Linked DNA regions of Homo sapiens: regions 1, 3 and 4 are each linked to region 2. The links are contacts of gene promoters, found by promoter capture Hi-C in blood cells and fetal thymus (Javierre and others, 2016). All regions are on one chromosome and are shown on one strand. The core of a region is centred on a gene start or on the middle of the fragment in contact, and the rest is flanking DNA. Distances in the headings are between cores, read along the strand shown. Region 1 holds the start of LOC105370135 (a long non-coding RNA gene). Region 2 holds the start of FLT1 (fms related receptor tyrosine kinase 1). Region 3 overlaps FLT1 (fms related receptor tyrosine kinase 1). Region 4 overlaps FLT1 (fms related receptor tyrosine kinase 1).

What was found. The method cuts DNA at HindIII sites, captures the fragments that hold promoters and counts their contacts. A CHiCAGO score of 5 or more calls a contact.
Region 1: a fragment that was not itself captured here is called in contact with the fragment with the promoter of FLT1 in region 2 in 1 of 17 cell types (monocytes); the score reaches 5.8 in monocytes.
Region 3: a fragment that was not itself captured here is called in contact with the fragment with the promoter of FLT1 in region 2 in 3 of 17 cell types (monocytes, endothelial precursors and megakaryocytes); the score reaches 10.2 in monocytes.
Region 4: a contact is called between a fragment that was not itself captured here and the fragment with the promoter of FLT1 in region 2, in 1 of 17 cell types (monocytes). The highest score is 6.4, in monocytes.

The regions. Positions count from the first base shown.
Region 1 is chr13:28,573,063-28,579,329 of GRCh38, forward strand. It overlaps LOC105370135 (a long non-coding RNA gene), which reads left to right and starts at 1,950. Exons shown (of 3, transcript XR_941799.3): 1 at 1,950-2,072. RefSeq lists an enhancer at 1,311-2,510. The HindIII fragment of the contact is 656 bases long and covers 2,996-3,651 here.
Region 2 is chr13:28,490,377-28,496,894 of GRCh38, forward strand. FLT1 (fms related receptor tyrosine kinase 1) reads right to left here and starts at 4,752. Exons shown (of 30, transcript NM_002019.4): 1 at 4,404-4,752. The coding sequence starts at 4,467. RefSeq lists silencers at 4,238-4,287, 4,368-4,487, 4,608-4,657. The HindIII fragment of the contact is 4,512 bases long and covers 3,138-6,518 here.
Region 3 is chr13:28,395,258-28,401,325 of GRCh38, forward strand. FLT1 (fms related receptor tyrosine kinase 1) reads right to left here. Exons shown (of 30, transcript NM_002019.4): 12 at 1,703-1,811. Among named protein-coding and RNA genes, the nearest start is that of FLT1, 97 kb to the right of the region's middle. The HindIII fragment of the contact is 1,120 bases long and covers 1,715-2,834 here.
Region 4 is chr13:28,378,061-28,384,149 of GRCh38, forward strand. The region is part of intron 14 of FLT1 (fms related receptor tyrosine kinase 1); the gene reads right to left. Among named protein-coding and RNA genes, the nearest start is that of FLT1, 110 kb to the right of the region's middle. The HindIII fragment of the contact is 1,196 bases long and covers 1,848-3,043 here.

The sequences.
Region 1 (6,267 bases), core at 2,074-4,573, 81 kb after region 2:
CTTTTCATTCATTTACGCAACAAATGTTGATTTAACACTGTGCTGGGCATAGAAGATATGACAGATAAGTTGGTTTCACTTGTATAGGGAAAAGAGTTGTGCCCATGTCTAATTAGACTGTGCTTTGTAAGAAAAAAATGTATACCTGTTTCACTTAGTGAGGGAGAGAGAGAGAGAGAGTGCCTGTGTGTGTGCGTGCACGTGCGTGAGACATTGAAAGTACGAGGAAATTGGTGAGTTTTTGGGAGTTTTGCTACATCTATTTCTAAGTATTTTGAATATTCCAATTATGTGAATGTCTTAATTTTTCATGTCGCAATTCAAGCCATTGTCTCCTTATTTCTTGTGGTCATAAGGTTATAAATAAAGAACAAATTCCTGGAAAGTCATTTCATACCATCAAGCCACTAAAAATTAGTAACAAAAGGAAAAAAAGTAGACCACAAATATATGTTTTGTATTTATTTGTTAATATTAAGTGCATAAAACTAAACACTTTAAAGCAATCTTGCTAATATTGCTTTGGGGGGCTTTTCTGCAAAGGATGTACCTTCTGGAATTCTTTAAAATGAGTCCATCCAAATCTACGCTAAAGATGGCTTCTACTGTCAGCACAGTCACCCTCCACTGCCAGAAGCCCTCGACATGATACGAAACTGAAAAGGCTTCCTTCTCAAGCATCCTCCTCATTGAATATGTACAAGTTGAAATTCCTCGAACGGTAGTAGCCAAAAATTTCTCTTTCCTTGCTCACGGGCAGCTGGGAGGTCAGTCTGTCACAAGTCCCAGGCTGTTCATCTGGCATGTGCAGACAAAGTTCTAAATGCCCCCATCCAGGACTGGCTAGATTATTTGTGGGACCCAGTGCAAAATGAAAATGGCAAGCCCCTGTTCAAAAATTAAGAATTTCAAAATGATGACAAGAGAGCATTGAACCAAGCATGGGCTCTTCTGAGCATGGGGCTCTGGGCAAATGTAGTACATGACGCCGGCCTTGCGCTCCTCTGGATGGACAAACAGCTTTGAGACACTGGCCATGCTACCCTCCTAACCCACATCCAGAGCTCTAGGGCACTTCTTCAAGTGCAATTCTCTGCCTATCTTGAGCAATGTCCCTCTCTTGGCCCCACCCCACCGCTTCTCTCTTAAGTTCCCTTTCTTCCTACCTCCAAGCATTTTGACACATCTAGATATGACCTATTGGATCTCTGGATTCAAACGCAAGGCCTGTTCCAAAATCAGTTCTAATCCCACATACATATGGGTCTTTCAACATTTCCTTGTTATCTCCATGCTCTCCTCTTTGGGGTGTCCAAATGGATCTTAACTACCAAGTCCTCAAGTGTCACACAGGTTGTGACACAGTGGGCACATGGGAGGTGGGATGCCAGGGGTTAATCTGGCCTACTCAGAGGGCCAAGAAAGAGCCAAAAGGAAATGATGTTTCCAACCATTTCCTTCACTTCACCTCTGTATCATTAATTTTTTTTTTTTAATTCCACAATTTTCCACCTCCTGCCATTTCTCTTGGTCTTGTTCCTCTACCTTCTCTGTGAAGCCCTTGTCAAGGCCATCTTGGACCCACAACTAGAGTGGGAAGCCAAGGATGAAGGGGCAGCAAAAGGCCCTGGAGCAAATGTTCAAGCACAGAGCCATGCACACTAGGCCACGAACTTCCCGTCACACATGCTCTGGAGGAAGAGGAAATGCTTGACGCATCATCGCTCAGATTGCCTTGGTGGAAACTGCTTTCGATGGTTCACGTCTAGCAGTGTAACTCGATGACTCACAAAACAGCCTTTATTCATTGACGTGTTCTTCAGAGGACTCCATGAAATGACTCACACCTCTATTTACTAGGTTTTATTGGGAATGTGAGGTGAAATCTTTTCCCCTGGGAACAGGAAGTTTTCAGTGTTTCTTAGAAGAGGACGTGGGGACCTGATAGCAACACACATGTTGTTGATGGGCGGACTTTCTCTATCAGGGAGGCTCAGCTGGAGCAACAGAGCAGCATTTCTGGAGGAGGGCATATCAGTTTTGACACCTGTTTTCAGAATCATCCACAGAAGGTAAGGCTGGACGAAATGTTTCCTGTTGTGAATATTTAGAAGAGAGTCTGAGAATCAGAAAGTATTTTACGGAGCATTGATGAAAGGTTCAACAACTGTGTCTTGTGACGGCAGTCATTGATTTTTTTCCTATTGGGAATATGAGGGTATCCACAGTCAACGGGAAACGAGGGGAGGCCCAGTCAACCCCAGCACCCCAAGGATGATTGCTTGCTCACGGGAACTGAGCAGACTATGAACTCAATAGCCATAGACTTTGGACTCCCAGACAGGTGTGACAAGCAACAGCCGGGCAGATGAGGGACTTTACACCAGAGGCCAGCAGATACCACAAAGCAGATGCCTTCATGCCTGCAGGAGCCCAGGGGCCCTCTCTTCCTCAACGGCCACAGAACGAAACAGCCACACTCCCCATCCCCCAACATCAGATGCCATCTTAGGGAAAGAAGCCAGAGGGAGGCAAGGCCATCTGAGAGAGTGAGCGATTATACAAGAGAAGCAATTAGAATCATCAAGTGATTACACGAGTAAAAATCATCAAGTGATTTACACAAGTGATTATAAAAGAGAAATAATTGAGGCCGGGCATGGGGGCTCATGCCTGTGATCCCAGCACTTTGGGAGGCCGAGGTGGGCAGATCACCTGAGGTCAGGAGTTTGAGACCAGCCTGATCAACATGGTGAAACCTTGTGTCTACTAAAAATACAAAATTAGCCTGGTGCAGTGCTGCATGCCTGTAATCCCAGCTACTTGAAAGGCTGAGGCAGGAGAATCGCTTGAACCCAGGAGGCAGAGGTTGCGGTGAGCTGAGATTGCTCCATTGCACTCCAACCTGGGCAACAGGAGCAAAACTCCGTCTCAAAAAAAATAAATACATAAAAATAAAATAAAAGAGAAATAATTTAAATTTTGGAGTGGGGTAAGCTTTAACCTGGATGAGCCATTTCATGAAAATGTTCCCAGTAGCCAATGGATGGGGACAGAGAAAAATAAAAATGATCCAGTTATTTATAGACCAAATTAAATCATGGTGGGTTAATCTATATGTCAAATGGTACCTGCATGAATTGGCAACCCTGCTGCACAATTGGTTACGTAACACTTGTTACACATCAGATCCTATCCCAGAAGTGGGGGACAAATTCCAGTTTAAGACAGAGGCAGCTGGGAAACAATTACTATAGCACTCTTGGTCAGCTCTGTGTTGGGGGAATGCCTCAGAAGCCCAGGGGCCCAGAAGAAGGTTATTTAATTCAGAATACAGGCTCAGAGAAGGCTTCCTGGGAGTTGGGACCTGAGCTGAATTTGGAAGGACAAGCAGGTGTTACCTATTTGGAAGGACAAGCAGGTGTTACCTAGAACTTAGATTCTAAATGAACAAACAGAGGAAGCACTTCCAAGGCCAGAACAGCAGTGGGGAGGCACAGAGGTGAGAAGCCCGTGATGAGGTCAGGGGAGGGAGAGGAGCCTACACACCTGGGTGTGCAGAAGAACCAAGAGATGAGGCCAGAGGGATAAGCGGGGGTCAATCAGGAAAAGACTTGGGAGGTGAGCTAAGATGTTTGAATTTTGTTTTGAAGCTTTGAAGAATTATTGAAAGTAGTGGGCACCTGTGATCCCAGCTACTCAGGAGGCTGAGGCAGAAGAATCATTTAAGCCCAGGAGGCAGAGGTTACAGTGAGCCAAGATTGTGCCACTGCACTCCAGCCTGGGCAACAGAGGGAGGCTCTGTCTCAAAAAAATAAATAATTATCAAAGATTCTAACTAGGGGTAGCACAGAAGCAGATTCTCATGGGAAAAAGGTAGTTAAAGTGGGAGGGTGGAGGATGAGTGAAGGGGGGCAGGGGAAGGGGGACCAGTGAGGCAACGATGGTAGAAATGATGACAAACCGTGAAGGTCTGAACCCAGATGGTGGTGTTGCAAGTAAGAAGCAGGATTTGGGTTGAAGACATAGCTGAGAGACAGAATCTACAGGATCTGATAACTAATCAGATGTGGGAGGTGAATGAGAGGGGCAGAGGGGCTTCCAGAGTTCTGGCTGGATGGTAGCGCCAGGGCAAGTGCCTTGCTCCAAGGGGAATACCAGGGCCACAGTGTTCGGGGGCAAAAAGGAGGCATTGGGCTTGGGGTGCGATTGATGATGTGGTACCTGACAGCCAGTAATTCAGAATGTCTCCAAAAAGTAAAATGAAAACTTGGACTTCTCCTTGCACTTGTCACTTGGGCAGTTATTGGAGACCTTCATAAGAGCAGGTTCAGTGGGGTGACAGGGATAAAAGCCAATTTGCAGTGAATGAGAAAGTGAAGTTACTCTCTTCTCCTGATGCCTTATTCTTCCTGGGGGGCCGCTGTCTTGCTGAAGGGCCCCCTTGGAAACCAGAGGGCATCACGGACTCCTCCCTCTTTCCACATGATGTACTTGGCCAGTTTTTGAGTTCTGTTGATCCCTTTCCCTTAGGATCTCTTGATGCCATTCCCTGTTCTCCACACTCCCTCCCGCCTTAATCCAGTCTTTCCAAGATTTGCTGCCTAACTTTAAACAAAACTGAGGAATATTTTTTAAAAACACAAATCAGGATGAAGTTTCACTTATAAAGTTCTTCATGACCAAGTCCCCAAGATTCCTCTCCACCCCCCAATGCCTCCCATTCTAGCTCTGCTCCCCAAAGCCCTCTGCTCTGCCTGGACTGAGACCCCAGGGATCCCCCCTCCCTTCAGCTCTCAGCTCCCTGTGCTCATCGCTAGCATGGTACCCCATGGTCAGCACTGCCACCTGTTCGTCCTTGCTCTCCCCACCCCACCGCCAGCTCTTTGAAGATGGGGACCCCACTGTGTTCATCTTTTGTGTCCACAGCCGCCAGTAAAGTAGCCAGCATGGATGTACAAACTCAATACGTGTATGCTGAATAAAGAAATGAACAAGTTGTCAGTTCTCCAAGAGACTTGATTATGAGGGGGTTTATGATTCAAAGTGATGTCTTTTTTTTTTTTTAAGATGGGAGAAACTGAGGTTTAGATGCTGAGAGGAGTGAGCCAGCAGAGACAGAGAGAGGTTGAAATACAGGAGAGAGGAGGATTACGTGGAGCCATGCCCCTGAGCATGCGGGGTGGGATGAGAAGGGGGTGGGAGCTGGAAGGCACAGGAAGCAGGGACCTGGGGGTGGGGAGATGCCAATTCCATGGGGCAAAGGTGGGCTTAGAAGCAGAAATGTTCCCATGTGCTTGAAAACGAAGTTGAGGGCTTTTTCTCCTGATGGCCTCTATCTGCTCAGCAATGAGGAGGCAAAGTGTGAGAGTGAATGGGATTGGGCTAGGGCAGAGGGTTAGCAGAAAAGTGAAAGTTTGGAAGAACCACTAGGCGGGATGAGTTGGTCATGCTGTGGTGACAACGCCAAATCTCAGTGACATGACACACGACCCACACTCATTCTCACTCTACTTAGAAGTCCAGTGCAGCTGGACATCAATGATCTGATTCTTAGAATTTCTCAAGGGCCCAGGCTGGCTTCATCATTTTTGGGAAAATGCAGTGCCCCACCTTGCGGCTGGGATGCCAGTCTCCCTTCCCGCAGGTTCTGCTGCACCCACCCATAGCCGATGGCCGGCCTCCGAGGGGCTGCCATCTCCACACTGGAATGCACTTGGTACCCAGATTGGGGTGGGCATAAGGCCCTGTTTTAGCTTCCCACTGAGTGTGTCGGGGGGTTGACACCTGCTGCCTTGCTCTGCCCTGAGATGCTGCAAGCCGTATGCCCAACTGCTGTGGCTTGAATGTTTTTGTCCCCTTCAAAATTCTTGTGTTGAAAACTTAATCCCCAATGCAACAGTGTGGGAGGTGAGGCCTTTTGGGAGGTGCTTTGGTCACTGGGGCTCTGCCCTCATGAGTGGAATCTTGCTTGCCATTGCAAAAAGGGCTTGTGAGAGTGGGTTCACTCTCTCTTGCCCTTTCGTCTTCTGCCTTCTGCCACATGTGGATCAAGTAAGAAGTCCTGCACCAGATGCCAGCACCTTGGATCCCGGACTTCCCAGTCTCCAGGACCGTGAGATAGTCAATTTCTGTTCTTTATAAATGACCCTGTCTCAGGTATTCTGTTATGGCAGCACCCAACAGACTAAGACACCAGCCTGCCACATGTGTCCTCCTGGGCCCCCACCAGGGATGGAGAGTGACGGTGGAACGTGGTCTCCTCAC
Region 2 (6,518 bases), core at 3,502-6,001:
GAAATCTAGTCCACTATCTTCAGCAGACTCAATGCAACTGTTTCCTTAATGAACCCCCCTGCAGCCCCGTGAGCTAAGTCAGAGGCTTTCTTTTCAAGCCCTCCCTCAAATACCCCATTCCTCCAATTTCCTTCCCCTCCCTCAATCTGGTATAAAATCCAGCAATTTAATCAGCAGCATGCAATTTCCACAGCACCCAAGAGTGTGAGGAACCACCAGTGATCCTGGAAAGCATCTGGCAGGAGATCTTGTCATTTCTTACAAGCCTCTCCTATAAACGAAGGCCAATGGAGCAGAATGGACTGTTCGGTTCTACCAAATTGCTTAAACCAAATGCCACAGATGGTCTATACTTTTAACTACTCACAGTAATATATTTTTACTTAAAAAAAAGTCTGGTATGATTTCAAATGCCCTTCCTCCCCTACCTGCAATGACAAATGCACTGAAAAATGATGATATTTACTTGATACCCAACACACCCCTAACTGTGAGATCCAAACCAAGAATTAGACACGCCTGGCCTCTACTAACACCAGCAGGCTTCGCATTTAACATTCACGTGCCAAGATAGCTTCTCTCACTTTTTCTCCATTCTTATCCCCACCCACATACACATATCAGTTTAAAGCACTACAGAAGCTACTTACTCTGTTATTTGTTCTTGTCTTGCCCAACTGCCCAAGCCAGGTCAAATATCAGCCATAACTCTGCTGTGTAGATCTCAATAGGCTGCATAACCTTCCTCGAGGACATTACATTATTTTGGTCAATATGAAACCATTTTTTGGTAACACATCACCTTCAACTTCCATATTAAATAAATTTAAAGTAGACTTAGAAATGTCTCGATCATTTTTGGAAAGAACAAAGTAATTACTTGGTTTGTTTCTTAAAAGTCACGTAAAGTAGACTCAATTTTAAATAAGGGGTTTAGTATCCCTGTTAAAATCTGGAACTTTTTTTAAAAGAATAAAGCCATTCTGTTAATCAAATAAGTGTTAGCTTTAAAAATTCAAGAAATAAATAGGGGTTTAAAATGACTGCTATCCTTAGAAGAGTTAATGCAACTAGAGTTTTGAGGGAGCATCTACTTTATAGAGTTATACATTCTGCTAGTGAAAAAAGCCCAAGATAAAGATGACTGCTGGCTCAGGCATCCTCTACCAGCCCATCTCTTCCAAAACAGCCTATTCAAGGCCAAATTGACTGGCTGTTTAGGTACATGCTACTAAAGAAAAAGAAAGTTTAATGTGATTAGCAGGGGAAACCCAGTTCATCCTAACAGCCCCAGCATCATATGGTTTCTCATCCACTCTATATACAAATATAAATAAGGTGGGGAAGAGAAAAGAGAAAGACAGACACGGTGTTCAGGCCATTTCTTGGAATCATTCATTGAATTTTGGAGTCAGAAAAGGGCCTTAGAAATCAACCACCTATACTAACGTCTTCATTTTACATACGAAAACAAAGTACCCACTTGGTGATCGTTAGAAAAGAAACCAGATAGCCTATTATAGAATGTCCAACAGGGAAATTTTAAAAATGTAACAAAGTGCTAAAATAGTAAGCAACAATATTTGAGGAACTGGAGTAAGTAGTCACCTACAGTTCCTTTGTAACATGATGCTTCAGTTGGAAAACTGTAGGCTGCCAAAGCTCCTAAATAATTAATATTTCGAATATGCAATTTAGACCAAAAAAAAGTGCAGCTTCATAAAACCTTGGAGAAAACAACAAAAATTGTTACAAAAAATTAACTTTATTATAAGAGATTTATTACATTCAATTTGAAATAGGTATTTTCATGTGCACTTTGATTTAATATTATTAATATGGACTTCCTTCACAAAATTCACAATTTCAGTATTTCCACTTAGTTATAGTAAATTGTAAATGTTAGCTGTTCAAGAACTCAAGAAAAATGAGGGCAAAGAAAAAGGTCTGTAGCTTTCATCCAGGTTGTGATACCTTAAAAGTAAGAAATGAGACTCAGAGCTGGAGAAAGAGGACTGGTATCCTTTATAGAGAAAGAGCAATAGAGAGGACTTGAAAGTATCTGAATTATTGGCATCTTTTTATTTCCCAGAATGTCTGGAAGAGGTAAATAAGCGCTTTAGAGGGGAAAGGCATTATCTTTTTGTAATACTGAGCCTCTGGTTATTTTACCTCTCAATGCATGTGCACACCAGGCATGCACACACACAGAATATTAATAGCTGATAAGTATTCAAAGATTACATAGTACCTGAAGGAAGGCAGACCCAGGTTCATAATGACGCAAGAGAACTCTGCAGTGGGGAACCGTGGCTTCTTACTAGACATTGCTTCCCGGATATGCAGCCTCTCAGTTGAGCATGAAAGCCCTGATGCGGTTTGTAAAGTAGGCGGTAGCTGATTGTTTTACTGTGAGATGCTTGTTAACCAGACAGAGAAACTATGAGTTTTCAAAAGCACCCATGATGCCGACTGAGCTAACATGAACTAACAGAGTGTTCTGTTAACTGTTAGGTAAAGAGGTTCTCAGCTTGCCAATGTTAGTCCTTTCTTCCCAAAAAAGTGCAAATAAAAAAAAAAAAGAAATTCAGAGTTGCAAAACTGCTGCCCCATTTAAGTAAATTATAATCTAAGAAAAATCACAAGAGGATCCCACTCACATTTCTGTAAAGTTTCCACTGATCTAAGATGCTTCCAATTACAAAGAAAACGATGCTTCACTAAAGTCAGCATGTTTTCAAAATAAAGATATAATTATGTGAAGCAGAAAATCTAATAAATCACGTACTTTTCCCTCCGTAATTTTAGATTCATGTAATTTAGCTAGATTTATCTTTACATAATAGTCGAGTGAGGTATTTAAATTCTCTAAGCAATTATATTTTAATACAAGTGACTTTTCAAAACAAAAAATGTATTTGTGAAATAGAAAATACAACATTTTATTTAATATAGTTATGTTAGCACCTTTCCCAACCTACAGTGAGTTCTCAGAAGTTACCACTTCGCCCTGTCTCCGGGTTTAGTAGTTTCTCCAATCTAATTGGAACTATTACTTGTTACTTGGAAACTGACGGTCTAGTTAGTCTTCCCACTGAGAAAGAATATTTAATTATTACTGCTTTTTGGGTTTAACAAGCTTTTTGTTGTTGTTGTTGTTGTACTACGCTCCATCCTATTGACTTTTCTTCCCGGGAATCATTGCAATGACTTATTTTATATTACTATATTTTATTTCATATTTTACCTTTTCTCCACGATGCTTAAAAGAAAGGCGCTCCGAAATCTGGCTCTCTGCGCCCAGGGGAACGAGGCACAAATCTCCGCCACTCAGCCCCACTGAGCAGAGACTGCGAGTCCGAACCCTCAAGTTCCTCGGGGCTTTGACCCCTCAATGGCGGCGGTCTAACTGCTGGTAAAACCCCCGGCCCCTGACTGTTCCACCGCCCGTCTCCCAAACGCCCAGCGAAGGCTGACTTAGGTGGCGGGCGGACCTCATCGATTCCTCAAACCACATCGTTTGGTCAAAATCGCCCGCCCTCTCTTCGCTCGGATTTTAAAGGCTAGGCTTGTAAGTCAGTAAGTTAACGGTATTTGGGCCCTGGGCTGCCCTTGTGGGTCAGGGTCACTGATGTCCGCGACACGGACTGGACCGCGCACCACGCCTGCTCCCGGCAGAGGCCCCACCCGGGTGGCTGAGCGCAGCGCACTGGGGCCCCGCGGTCCGAGAGCGGCGGGGAGGAGCGGGCGCTCGCCGAGCGTTCCCCGGGACAGTCCGGCTTGGGGACTCAAGCGGGTCATGGGATGCCGGCGCTGGCCCTCTCCTGAGATCCTCCTGCTCCCCCGCAGGCACGAGTCCCCTCCAAATCGGCTCCCCTCCTACACTCTCGTGACGCGAGGTCGCGGCCAGTGCCCAATATCACCAAAGTCCCGGCCTCAGCCCAGCCCCGGGCAGCCTGGCAGGCTTTCAGGAGCCTCTGCTCCCGGCTCCGGGGGACCCTGCGTACCTGCCCCAGGTCCTCTGGGAATGGGCTCTGGGTGCCAGGCAGGTCCCGGTGCGTGCTGCTCCTAGTGCCCAGGGCCTCGGCAGTGAGACCCCAACCCGACAGCTGGATAAGGGATCAGCGATCCTGTCGCAAACGGACAGCCCCAGCGCGGACCCGGTCTGAGCGCTGATGCTCGCGGGTCCAGGCCAGCCACTCCTCGAGGCGCTCCCTCGGAGAAAGGGCGCAGCGGCCCCAAGCGTGCCCGCTGCAACTAGTGTCCCAGGTTCTCGCCGTAGCCAGCTTCTCCGGGCTACAGCCTCGTCTCCCCGCGTGCACCCCGCCCTGGCCTCGGAGGCTCTGCCCTCCGGCCGCCCCATCGCAGCCCGCCTCAGGCCCCGGCCCCCAGCCGCGCCTCACCTGTGAGAAGCAGACAGCTGAGCAGCGCGCACAGCAGGACCCCGGTGTCCCAGTAGCTGACCATGGTGAGCGCGACGCGGCCTGCTCGCCCGGTGCCCGCGCTCCCCGCGGCCAACGACCCGGCCGCCAGAGTCCGTCCTCTCGTTCGCCGCCGCCGGCCCCGCGCCCTGAGCGCCCGTCTCGCGGCTCCAGCCAGGAGACAACCACTTCCCCGGGTAATCCTCGCCGCCAGGCGCCCGCTGGCCGCTGCACCCGAGCCCCGGAGCCCGCTCCGAGCCGCCGCCGCTGCCGGGGAGGAGCCGAGAGGAGTGTCCGCCTGGCGCGCTCCGAGCCTCCCGCGGACCTCGATGAAGAGCAGCCGAGGGCGGGGGCGATTTATAACCTTTCCCCAGCCCACTTCCTACCCCGGCACCTCCTTCTGGTGACGTCAAGGGGTCCCCCACCCCTCATCCGCCTCCCCACCTACCCTCTTCTTCCTCCCAGGCTCGCTTCCCTGCGGCTACGGAGAGGGGCGGGGGCCGACGAGGGCGGGTGGCCCGGGGCCGAGCGCGCGTGGGGAGGTGCTGGCGACGCGGGCCCGGGAGCGCGGCCCCGGCAGGTTCAGGGTCTTTGCTCCGCGCCCTCTTGCCCTTGCCCCTCCTCCTGCCCATCGCGCTCAGGAAATCCTTGCAGACTCCCTCCACCCGGCTTACTCAGCTCTGGGGGCCGCCCGAAACTGGGGAAGGGACAAGGCTGAAGCTCCGCCGCCTGGCCCTAGGGGCGGAAAGTCCGATCCAAGGGAAGCTGGCCGCGCCTCCGCGACGGTGTTCTTGGCACGGAGGACTGAGGCGCAGTCCGGCTGTCTCCCCTTGCCTGCTCTTCCCGCGCTGTCCCGCCGCTCCTGACCCCTTCAGACTGTCCCGAGAAGTCTAGGAAGGCACCGGAGACCCTCGGCACAAGGCACTGAACCTGGAGCGCCTGAGGGGAACTGACGCTTGCTTGGCACCTTTGGGAAGACTGCGAACCAGCTCAGGTCCCAGGGGAGCGTGTCCGTGTCTTTTTCGGCCGCATTGATGCACCCGCCCAAGTCATTTCCTCAGTCTTCTGCTTCCTAGAAGCAAAACAAGGAATAACATTATGATACCTTTAAAAAGCTGAGGCGTGAAACTGCTCCTGCAACTTGGAAGCGCAGGGCACTTGAACTTTATTCCCTAAATGCTCGAAAAAGAAATCTTTCTGGTGGCAGCTTGCTACTCAAGATGAGTGACTCTGACCACAACCGGCTGAAATTAACTTGAGGCCCTAGATCATTTGCTATGACACTAATTCCACGTTGTTCCTCAATTATGTCTCCATTACCTCAAAGGCTGAAGTCGTCCTGGCTGCACGGAGCAGCCCAGTCTTGTCTCTGTAAATACCGCAGATTTGAAAAATAGTCCTATTGGAACCCGTCAGAGGGATGTAATACAAGGGACTGTGATGGCTCTTGAACGGAGCCAGAGACTCTTCCTGAAGGACTGGACTACCTCCCCGCCTAGGAAGGTTGGGTAACCCAAAGTTGCCACATTTCTGGGCTGCACACCAAGGAGAGGCCCCGGCCACTCCACACAGGAAATGCACGTCTGGGCACCTGGAGCCGCAGGACCTGAGCCACTAACTGTCCCTGGATCCCTTCTGCTTCAGAGGCAAGGAAGACTGCCGGAGTCATTGCTTGCCTGCTGGCTTCACCAGCGCTTTCTGTTTTTCCAGTTCTCCTCACCACTCTTCCTGGCGCCTTTCTCTGCCTCCCGCACCCCTGCCTCCTCTAAAACCCACAGCATCATCCCTCAGAACAGCTGGAAGCGGACAGCTGATCCTTCTCCTTGCTGGTCCCCCAGCCCAGAACACAGCCTGGGACATACGTGCGGAGCCACAGTGTCTGTTGGTCTCACCTGAGAGCTGCTTGTCACTCCCACACCCTCTTTCAAGGAGAAGCTGTCAGCATTGTCCTTCTGCAGCATTCAACAGGGGCCAGGCATTGGGTTAGGGCTGAAAACACTGATGGAGAGCCATCATCTTTGCCTTCTAAAGGGCTTGGACTGTGATAAGAAGGTGGACACTTGAAGTGGCTGCAGGACCGGCATTCCAGTGCTGGAG
Region 3 (6,068 bases), core at 1,025-3,524, 98 kb before region 2:
CTCTTGTCTTGGCTCTGAAAATGTCAGGGCAAGTCTGTTTTCTTCTCTCCACCTATTCAAATCCCACCTTCTCTCTTCCTGTTCAGGTCCTGCTTCCTTCTCAGAGGCTTACAGCTGCACTGTCCAATATGGTAACTGTGAGCCACATGTGGCTTTTGAGCACTTGAAATGTGGCTACTGTGTCAGAGGAACTGAAGCATATTCAGTTTATTTGATTTTATTTAAATTGATTTAAGTGTAAAAACTGAAGCAGTGTAATATTTTTAAAAAATACTGATTACATATTGAAATCACAATAGTTTGGATATATTGGGTTAAATAAAATTAATTTTACTTTTAAAAAAACGTGGTTACTAGAAAGTTTTAAATGGTATTTGTGGCTTATATTATATCTCTATTGGACAGTGGTGGCTTTAGAAAGCAAGCTCACCTGTCACATTACCTCTGCACATAAATTTTGATACTAGGATATATGTAATTTGACATTTCTTGTTTGTTTCCTTGGTGTTAGAAACCTGTTCCTAGAAAGACAGGACTTCATTGATGTTCCTCCAAGTGCTCAGTAGAGTTGAACTGTACCATTTAACAGTGCTGATTAAACTGTTACAAAGTTATTGAATGTTCAGAACAAAACAGGAATTTTTCAGTCTTTTGTATTCTAAATCAGACATACTACGACTATGGGTTGAGACAGTAACTTGTTTCCAACCAAATATAAAGGACAGTGCAAACCTTTGTATTTAATTAGTCCAAATCCCATTTGCTCATCTGGAAAATACAAGAGCTATGATGCAGAATAGCCTCTAGAATCCCTGACAGCCCTGACGTTCTATGAGAATCTACTCAGGGATATCTCCCATGGCACAGCTTCTCTGGGGCTTGGCTAACTTGCCAGAGGCCCCTGTGATCTGACAACACATATGTGTCATGGAATTGGACATGTCTATTTCTTTCTGGAGAACTTTTGGCAATTTCTGCAGCCTGCCCCGGGCAGTGAGAAGTTTCCAGAAAGTTGGCTTACTGCCCATGTTTCCTCAGAAATTGGGGGAGTGTGGAGCCAGGCAATTGTTTTTATACTTTGAGCTACTTACTTCCTTCCTGTACCCATTGAGGGACATAGGGAGTGCCATTTGTGTACCTTGGAGGTTTTTAAGATTTGCAGAGACCATCATATTTAAGGCTAAAAATTCTTAAATGCTATCAAAAAATAGCACATTAACTATTGTTAATAAAGCTCTGTTTCAGATTGCTACAGAGCCTCATTCCCCAAAAAGTCTAAATTACCTAAGTTGTAAAAAAATTAACCTTTTGGTTAAAACAAAAACAAAACCAAAAACGATGTCATCATATTATATGCATTATAATTGGTTTCCTTGATTGGTATTGAACTGCTATGTACCAGACCCTGTGCTAGGTACTGAAGGGAATGAAAAAATGAGCATACAAGATTCCCAATTCATAATCCAGTCTGGGAGGGAGACAAACACAAATAACTCTAAAAGAGAATACAGGGAAATAACTCCTTACGAGATCCGATGAGGTAGAATTCTATTCCTGAGAGCAAGGATGAAGGCACTCAAAGTTTGACAATTCTATGGAATTAAAAAAAAATCACTCAAGCTATAAATGCACTAAAAGCAAACAAGACTGAAGAGAGAATGAAGTCACCAGGCTGTCTCTGGTTATAGGATGTGTGGCTTACCTGTGATATAAAAGCTTATGTTTCTTCCCACAGTCCCAACTTTATTGGAAGCTATGCAAATGTAGATTCCAGAAATTCTAGAGTCAGCCACAACCAAGGTGCTAGCCATCTGCAAAAGAAAAGGAAACTTTAGCTAGCAACAGGACAAATAACTAATTGAACACCCCAAGCTACTTCTGAGGTTGAAATGATTCAGCTACTCCATTCATTCTGCAAAGAGAGTATTGCATAGGTGGTGGTTACCAGAAGGCTCTCCCCTTGCCGAGCCCCAACAAGAATGGAAAAATAACAGGAAAGCAGGTCCTCAGGAGACCGGGGCCTATGACATCCGACTCATATGAGGGTTTCAGGCTTATTTATCTCGTGCTGCTGGCGTAACAATTACAGACCTGAAGCTGAGATGTGGGACTGCACGTCCTACCCTATGAGGTGGTCAGTTCCACATCAATGAGAGGAACAGGTGAGGCTGAGGCCTTCCCTTTTGTTTGGGTGACCTGAGAGCATAGATGCCAGTTATAACAGGAGCCTTCTCTGCTGTTTGGTTCTATAACAGGCATGTTAAGTGAGCAAGGACAGAAGATAATGTTTGGCTGAAACTTTTTTTTTTTTAAGAAATGGGGTCTTGCTATGTTGCCCAGGCTGGCCTTGAACTTCTGGGCTCAAGCAGTTTTCCCGCTTTTGTCTCCCAAGTAGCTGGGACAACAGGCACATGCCACTGTACCTGGCTTGAAACTTTTTTTCTATGCTCAAATAATGTGGCATGCAGCACTGGATGGTCCTGAAGGAGACCGTGTGTGTGTGTGTGTGTGTGTGTGTGTGTGTGTGTGTGTGTGTAAATTACCTAATTTCTCTTAATAAATTAAGTATCTATTCCTAATCTAGAAGATGAAAATTTAAATTATGAATTAATGCAATTATATTGTTCCACTAGACTTTAGTGCTATTATTTGACAACTTAGTCCCTAAAGAAACATTAGCAGTCAAAATTGCATGAACTTGAAAGCACTTTCCAAATTCTGATGTCTAAAAAGTAATGAAACAAAATTTTAGACAACTTAAAGACTTGCATTCTTCCAAAGAAAAAAAATTGGCAATATGAAACAAATTGTTAAACATTCTTAAATTTAACCCAAGCTTGCATTAAAAAGTAGTGTATAATCTATATGAAAAAAATGAGAAAGCTAGTTTCTCATACTTAAAATTATGGAAAAGAAAAGTTAGTCCAGTTACTTATAAATCTTTGCAGCCTATGTCCTAGGACAAAAATAACTGGTTATGGGCTTTGAAATTGCAGAGGCTGTGCAAATGATTCCAGACTAATAGAGTGTCCTTGCTGAAGTATAATGACAAGTGACTTACAGGCTAAAGTAATGTAAGGCTGAAATGTGACAGCTGACTTTCCAAGGTGGTGGACATACTCTACAAGTGGTTTGGCTGTAGGAGAGAGTCCTAACATTTTCTTGAGTTTCTAAGTAATGTGCTAGGCACTTTAGTTGTGTTCTCTTATCCCATCTAATAAATTAAGGTATTTCTGTCTTTAATCTACAGATCAGGAAGACTTAAACACATGTTCCTCATGTTTTTAGCCAGCAAATTCATTGGTCCAAATTCTCTACAATTTTCACTGTGGTATAGTGAGTAGTACACAGTGCTTTCTCTTCTGTTTGTTGGAAGGATCTGCTTAATTACACCTACCCATATACTCCCTGTGTATTATTGAAATTATTGGTAATGAAAGTGTCTGCAATATGTGGCAGACAATTTAGCAGACATTTATTGAGTGATTATCAAGGCATTGCCCAGATGTTGTAAGAGAGACAGAGATGAATATGACACAATCCCTCCCTTAACATTATCATTCTTTAAGGTGATAGAGAAGAATTTCCCTCCTTGAAGATCATACAAAAATTATTCTCTCTTTTGCAAGGAAAGCGCATATGAAGGCAAATAATCCATGGGAAAGTGTACGAAAGAGAGCTCAGGTGTCCCTTTTCTTATTTTGATGATGAATCTTTTTAAGAGGTGGGACATAAAAAATTCTGAATAGCCATTTCCTTGTAATTGTTGTACCCACCCGTTTAGAGTCACGGAAGGAAATGGAAGTAGTTGGAAGAGAAGCTTGTAGGTGGCAACATGAAAGAACTGTTAGCTGGTGGAAGCTGGAAGACAGGAGAGATCGTCAAATACGACTCTGACTCCCTTACATTGTCTCAGGAAGCTTAGACCCTTCAAAGCAGTATGCAAAAAATTCAGAAACAAGGAGCTCAGATGAAGCCTTTTTAAGCTGGGGTGTCAGCTCCAGCACTGTTTTTTTTATGAAGTTAGTTCTCAAGTGTTTATCCTAATGGGCCTCAGGAGAAACTTACTTAGATTCTCAGATTAATTGTTGCTCAGTAAGTAAGTGAAAAACCCATTTCTGTTGGCTTGGGAGTGTTTGAAATTATGGACAGCATTTATCTGCATCTATGAGTCATGTTTGGGTTTTTATTTAAAAGATTTTGATTTCATTGAACTTAGAGCAACCGAGAACAAGAACTGGGTTTCGTGGCAAGGGAAAATCAAGTCAGATGTATACATTTGCCACATTTAAGACCTGTGTAGGTAACCTGGGAATGGCCGTGGCCATTTTACAAGTCCCCAACAAATAGTCAAATAGGTCCAAATTTATGTATAATCAGAGAATAAAACTGAGGTGCCCCGAAGTGAAATGAATCCGGGTCACAAGATGGAGACAGAAATGTATTGAATTTTTCTTCTTTTGTGTGAATGACACCTTCCAAACAAGACACATTACTCGTAGTCAAGCCTGCCCCAGAAATCATGTCTCCAAAGCTTCTATTAAAATAGAAGCAGAAAACAACGTTGATGGGAGTTTACATTATTTCTTTGTTTCTGCGAACCTTTATGTATGCCTTACAATGCACCAGGCAGCATGCAAGGCACTTTACAGGAATTGTCTCATTTAATCCTCCCCAAAACCCTGTGAGATGGGTATATTACCCTATTCTACAGGTAGGACAACTGAGGTTCCGAGAGATTAGATGATTCACCCAAAGATGCAAAGGACCACAGACAGGCCTGGGCAGAATTTATGCTCAGGTGTGTCTGCCTCCGCGCCTATGCTCCTAATCTCTACACCAGATTGCTTCTCGCCTTGAGACTCTTTAAGTTGAATAACACAGATCTATTGGCAAAATTCTGTCTACACCTTTAATTGAATTTTTCCTTGAGAATACTTCCTTTAATCCGCAGAGATGGGTAACATAAATTAAATACTACTACTATTTACAGAAATACTAGTTGGCTTCTCTGATGACATTTTACATAAGCTGCAAGCTGCTCTTCAACTGTTGTTATGTGGTTTGAAAATATATTTGATAAATACAATGGTTATCACTAAAGAAGAAAAGTTAAAAATAAGGTGAAACATATCCTATGATCAGTTTTATTAAAATTTATCTCATTTCTAGAGTACTTCTCTTTCAGGGGATATATTTTTAAATTATAAATTCAAACATTTTCTCATTAAAAATAAAATTATTTGACAATTAAAATTTAAACTTTATAGGGCCAGAGAAAGGAGCTCAGGTGCAAATTGTAGATCAGTGTAGTCTGGCTGGACTAGAAGGCAGCTTTGCATGAGACAGTGAGTTTCAATGTCTGAGTCTTCTGAATAAAGGAAAAAATCTGTTCCTCAGTCCTTATATCCAAATACTATGGTGTTAAGGGAAAAAAACGAAAATAGCATCACAGTTAGGGCATGCAATATCAACTAAATACTTTCAAAGAGAAAGTAACCAAGAATTTGAGTTGTGCGTTTGAAATTATAATCATTTATTCTATAAGGTATGCAAAAATAAATTCTTAAGGATATCTACTTGTATTAGTGCTATAATTAGTTTTCATTTTCCACAATTGAAAATAAATGAAAGAGGACTGAGGAAGAGAAAAAAGCAGAAGTGCTGAAATAAAATTAGACTATTAGGCCTGATGCGGCGGCTCAGGCCTGTAATCCCAGCACTTTGGAAGGCAGAGGTGAGTGGATCACCTGAGGTCAGGAGTTCAAGATCAGCCTGGCTAACAAGACGAAACCCTGTCTCTACTATAAATACAAAAATTAGCTGGGCATGGTGGCAGGCGCCTGTAGTCCCAGCTACTTGGGAGGTTGAGGCAGGAGAATCGCTTGAACATGAGAAGCAGAGGTTGCAGTGAGCCGAGATCATGCCAAAATACATAAATAAATAAATAAATAAATAAAATTAGACTATCAAATTTTATATTAGTCTTAAAGGACTCATGCTTTCTACTCTTCATTTTTACTGCTTTTGCTTTTTGTGGTGCTTCCAGTTGCCTGGCCTGGCCCTCA
Region 4 (6,089 bases), core at 1,196-3,695, 110 kb before region 2:
TTTTTTTGAGTTGGAGTCTTGCTCTGTTGCCAGGCTGGAGTGCAGTGGCGTGATCTCGGCTCACTGCAACCTTCGCCTCCCGGGTTCAAGAGATTCTCCTGCCTCAGGCTCCTGAGTAGCTGGGGCTATCAGCATGCGCCACCATGCCCAACTAATTTTTGTATTTTTAGTAGAGACGAGGTTTCACCATGTTGGCCAGGATGGTCTCGATCTCTTGACCTCATGATCAGCCTGCCTCAGCCTCCCAAAGTGCTGGGATTACAGGCATGAGCCAGCGTGCCTGACCGAGACTTAATCTTTAAGGGCTGAGAATGAGCAGATATTCATTGTTTTAAATACATGTTTATTGGTGCCCACTATATCATTTAAAACTGATGCTCATTTGTTCTCTTGTGAGTGAGGTGAGCTAACATTTAGTTATGCTCAATGCTAAATGCCCATATGTTCAGTGTGCAGAGTGCAGGCTTCAGAGTCAAATTCTTCTGGTCTGAACCTTGGAGGGCTACTCACTAACTCTATGACCTGGGACCAGTTATTTTTCCTCTCTATGTCTCAGCTTCCTCATCCATTAGTCTGTAAAACGGTCAGAATCATTCAGCAAACCTCACAGAATTGTAATGAAAAGCAAACAAATTAGCATTAGGTAAGTTCTAAAGCAGCAGCAGAAACCTCGCAGGTGCTTGTTAAGTAAAACAGATCTGTGGAATGTATCTAATAATGTCCCTACCTCAAAGGATAGTTGTGAAAATTAAATGAGTTATCTCCAAAACACTTAACACGGTGCCTTGGTACCTGGTAAACGCTCAATAAATCTTATATTGCTATGTTTAATAGAGAAGACATATTAAGATATTATAAAATAAACACATGTAACACCAGAGAACAATGAAGTGATGTGCTCAATGACATGAGTTGTAAATAAACCTAGACATCAGAAAAAAGGAAGAATCACTTCCCTGGAAGGTGAGAGAAGATCTTTCACGACATCAAGAATTAGTGGGGCTGGGCGTGTTGGCTCTCACCTGTAATCCCAGCACTTTGGGAGGCTGAGGCAGGCAGATCACTTGAGGTCAGGAGTTCAAGACCAGCCTGGCCAACATGGTGAAACCCTGTTTCTACTAAAAATGCAAAAATTAGCCTGGCGTTGTGGCATGCACCTGCAATCCCAGCTATTCAGGAGGCTGAAGCACCAGAACCTGGGAGGCGGAGTTTGCAGTGAGCCAAGATTGTGCCACTGCACTCCAGCTTGAGCGACAGCGCAAGACTCCATCTCAAAAAAAACAAAACAAAACAAAAAAGCATTAGTGGGAGGAGAATAACGTAGTGAGAGGAAAGAGAATTTTTCAGGCAAGAACTGAAGGCAGCCCATGGCCCAGAGGACCGAAGGGAGAAGAGGAGAAAGGAAAAAGTGAGGAAGAGTGGTGTCAGGGCGCAGCAGGAAGTTAGTGCTAACGAGCTGGATGGGGCCAAGCAATCGAAGCCCTGAGAAGCCTGACAGCGGTGCTGGGAGTTGGGCACGCGCAGCAGACAGCATGCCAACCCCGAGGTACTCAGGCAGTGTGGTGTGCAAGGCCCTGTCTCTTCTTGTTTGGGTTGCCCTGGCCAAGATTGTCTCTTGCAATCCGTTCACATGCGTTCCAGGGCCTGCATGCTTAAGATCCCTTTTATTCCTGCTTGATGCCCTTTGGCTCAAGAATTTACTACTCAGCTTTTATAACACTTTCTTAAAACTGCCTTTCTTCTGGTGAATGGCTGTGCCCCACTGACAGTTTTTTCCTGAAAGGAAATGATAAGGGAGGAAAAAGCTCCAACTACCCCAAGTAGGCATTTTATAGGCGCTTGTACAAAGCTTGAGCCCTTGTGTGTGCCTCACTTCCTCTCTAATATTTTCTTTGGAATGGGAGCAAGTCATCATTTAAAAAATAACAATGATAATGGACTGGATCCTATCAATGATCCAAGGTCACTAAAATTCTCTTGCTATATCAATCCTTTTTGAGCTGCCAGGCTTCATCTAAAAGGTGCACCTCAAGTATCTAAAGGACACACAGTTTATTTTCAGGGTTTTAAAACTCAGTCAAGCTGGCTAAAGGCTGAGTATATAACAAACTACTTTTCAGTCTTTGCAGGCCATGATCTTAATACTCTTCCATTTCAGTTTTGCAACAATTGGCGAATCAGGGATTATCACTTTGGTTACCTTTATTCATAGGTTTACAAAAAGAAATAGTCATAAAAGAGTTGGCAGTTTTGAAGATACTCATATATACAAACATAAGGGTCATCGTCATGGAGCATATTGCATTGGCTATTGCATTTGCTCCTGAAATGGGAATATTACGTATGGAACTTTACAGAAACTATATACATGGGGAAGATTATCTCCAGAAAATTAAGAAAGCCCTTTCCTAAAGGCTATAGTGGTTTTACAGAGTGAATAAAAGGAAGCGAGAGAAAGAAAATTGCTGACTTGGTATAGCTGAACTTAATAAGTGCTAAATTGCTAAATAGTAGCATCCTAGAATGATATTTATAGAATATTTTGTGTAAGACTTTATATGACCTGTTTTTAGATATTATTCTTTTGGTTTGGCCCTCAGAAGATCAGAGAAAGCTGGGTGGTGGAGGGGTGGTGGGGGGAGAATCTGTATTATTTTGTTTTAGGGTTGTTTGACATTTGAGCTTATTAATTAACTCTGATGCCTTCCAGTGAATTCTGCCAACTCACTGGACAATTTCTGTATAAATGAGGTGGGTCAGAAGGCAGCATTGAACAAGCCAAGACTATGGGCCAGCTTACGTTAACTCATTTAAACCTTACCATATCCCTGTGTGGTCAGAATTATCCCAATTTTATAAATAGGGGAAAAAGGGCTCCGAGAGTAAGGAATAATGAGTTGCCCAAATTCTTATATGACTCATGAGGGCCATGCTAGGACTCAAGCCCTGATCTCCCCAGCACACTGGACTCTTTTTTTGCATGTGGTAGCTGCTGAGACACATTCTCTTGCCTTGTCTCTCCTCTAGTCTCATAATGGTTCTAAGCTTCCCAAATCATTTTAACTCTGATTCTTTAACCCACTTCCAAATTATAAAAACTGAACTTATTTCACATTTACTTCTTTCAAAGAATCACTCAACATCCTACACTAATCTTTCATAAAATGGATTTTGTGATCAAGTAAGTTTGAGGAATACAGAACTTAGCACAGTTGGCCCTGTGCGGTGGGTCACACCTGTAATCCCAGCAATTTGGGAGGTCAAGGTGGGTGGATCACTTGAGGTCAGGAGTTTGAGACCAGCTTGGCCAACATGGTGAAACCCCCATCTCTACTAAAAATACAAAAAATTAACCAGGCATGGTGGCAGATGTCTGTAATCCCAGCTACTCAGAAGGCTGAGTCAGGAGAATCACTTGAACACAGGAGATGGAGGTTGCAGTGAGCCAAGATCATGCCACTGCACTCCAGCCTGGGCGACAGAGCAAGACTCCATCTCAAAAACAAACAAACAAACAAAACAAAAACAAAAAAACTTAGTACAGTTTACCAATTTCTTTCACAAGCTATTTATTCATGTATTTATTCATCCTTTTATTCTGGGAGAACCTCTCAAGGGACTAGCTTTCCACAAAACTACCCATCTTGGTAGTGTGTCATCTTAGGCAAATCACTTTACCTCTTTGAGCCTAAGTTTTCCATTCTACATGTTAGACTAAAGATACTCTAAAGGTCCCTTGAGCTTTAAAACTTCCATGATATGGGCCCCACCCCCATGCCAAATCGAGGCTTTTGTGCTACCACTATGAGTTTGCTAAGGATAGCCTAAGATTTTCTGAAAACCATTTATTCATTCATTCATGGAACATTTATTTATTAATTGTCAAGTACTGTGTTAGGTTCTGAAGATGAAAAGACAAGACATAAATAAGACAAATAAGATAAACTATCTATCTGCCCTCTGGAGGGGAGACATATATGAACTGGTGATTTAAAAAAATACATAAGAGAGGAGTAGAAATATGCATAGGTAATACTGACACACATGAACTGATGATTTTTAAAAGTCTCAGCAAGAGAGAAGTAGAAACAGTTATAAGTAATAAAGACTCACGGAGGATCTGCCTCCTATTTGTGGGAGTTGTGTAAGGCCTAGTTGGAGAGAGAACACCCAATCTGGGTCTTAAGGGATGCGACAAAGGAAGGGAAGGTACTCCAGGCGGAGAGTAAACAGGAACCAAAGAAAGCATAGGGAGTTTAAACAGCATAATGTCTGCAGTGATCTACCAGAGTTTGGCACTGCTGGAATATAAAGTTATAAAATTCAAGTCAGGCGACTCTGAGCATAACGTCGTAGGAGTAGGCAGGGGCTAGATATTGAGGGCATTCTCTGTCAGATTCTTGAACTTCATCGAAGTGTGTTAGGGTTGAAGAGTTGGAGCCGGTGGAAGACTTGAAGCAGGGAAGTGACATGTTCACAGCTGCATTTTATACTGTTGTGTTGAAAGTAGATGCAAAGAGAGATAGGGAGACAAGTTTGGAGACCACTGAAGGTGTTCAGAGGCTAGGTAATGAGTGTCTGGACCGAGAGAATAATGGGGAAGCAGAGAAAGGAATGGATTTGAGAAATATTTAGTATTTAGTAGGTGTAATCTGCTCAGTCTGGTGATTGATTAGATGAAGAGGGCAAAGGAGAGACCATCACCTTCTAGTTTGGATGATTAAATATTTGATGTCAGTATAAGAGGAGGTGCTACTTTATGGAGAAAAATGAAGTGATGTGATTGGTTTTGAACCTGCTGAGTGTAAGGTCTCTCTAAGACATTTGCAGATATCTTAAAATTTGGAGTTGTTATACCACAACCCCATTCTGTGCATCAAACTCAAATGGAGGTTTCATTTTGTGTAGAGGACTTACATTTAAGGACTACTCCATATTGCTGTTTATTTGATTTAGATTGTTGGAATATTGGAAATAAATGGCAATTTTATTTTTAATAAAATATGAATATCAATTAAAATCATAAATAATTTCATTGTACTCTTATTTAACCACAGATTTATGAAGCAGGCAATAGACAGTGTTTATACTTATTGGTTTAAGTCTCGTTGTTTTTAAGAGTACAGTCAGCCCACAGCGAGACTCCATCTCAAAAAAAAAAAGTACAGTCAGCCTTCTGTATATGTGGATCTGCATCTGTGAATTCAACAAAAAAATTCCACAAGTTCCAAAAACCAAAGAACTTTTCACGCACCAAGTACTACATTGAGTTCACATGAAATGATGTGTAGGTATTGTATCAGGTATTAAAAGTAACCTAGAGCCGGGTGTGGTGGCTCATGCCTGTAATCCCAGCACTTTGGGAGGCTGAGGCAGGCGGATCACAAGGTCAGGAGATCAAGACCATCCTGGCCAACATGATGAAACCCCATCTCTACTAAAAATACAAAAAATTAGCCAGGCGTGGTGGCGGGCACCTGTAGTCCCAGCTACTCGGGAGGCTGAGTCAGGAGAATGGCGTGACCTGGGTGGTAGAGCTTGCAGTGAGCTGAGAGCGCACCACTGCACTCCAGCCTGGGCGACAGAGCGAGACTCTGTCTCAATTTAAAAAAAAAAAAATTAGCTGGGTGTGGCGGCGGGCACCTGTAATCCCAGCCACTTGAGAGGCCGAGGCATGACAATCGCTTGAACCCAGGAGGTGGAGGCTGCAGTGAGCTGAGTGAGATCGTGCCACTGCACTCCAGCCTGGTGACAGAGTGAGACTGTCTCAAAAAACAAACAAACAAACAAAAAAAGTAACCTAGAGATGATTAAAGTATGCAGGAAGGTATGTGTAGGTTATATGCAAATACCATGTCATACCATTTTATATAAGGAACTTGAGCATCAGTGCATTTTGGAATCTGCAGAAGGTGCTGGAACCAATTTCCCACGGATCCCATGGCACTATATGTATTGTTGAAAGAAAATAAACCTATACCCACTGGTGTAGATTTATGTTTTTTACTAGTATGATCAAACACAATTTAAAAAGTTTTCTTTTTACCAAATCCTTAACATCTGCGTAGATGAATTTAAAAGATTATAAA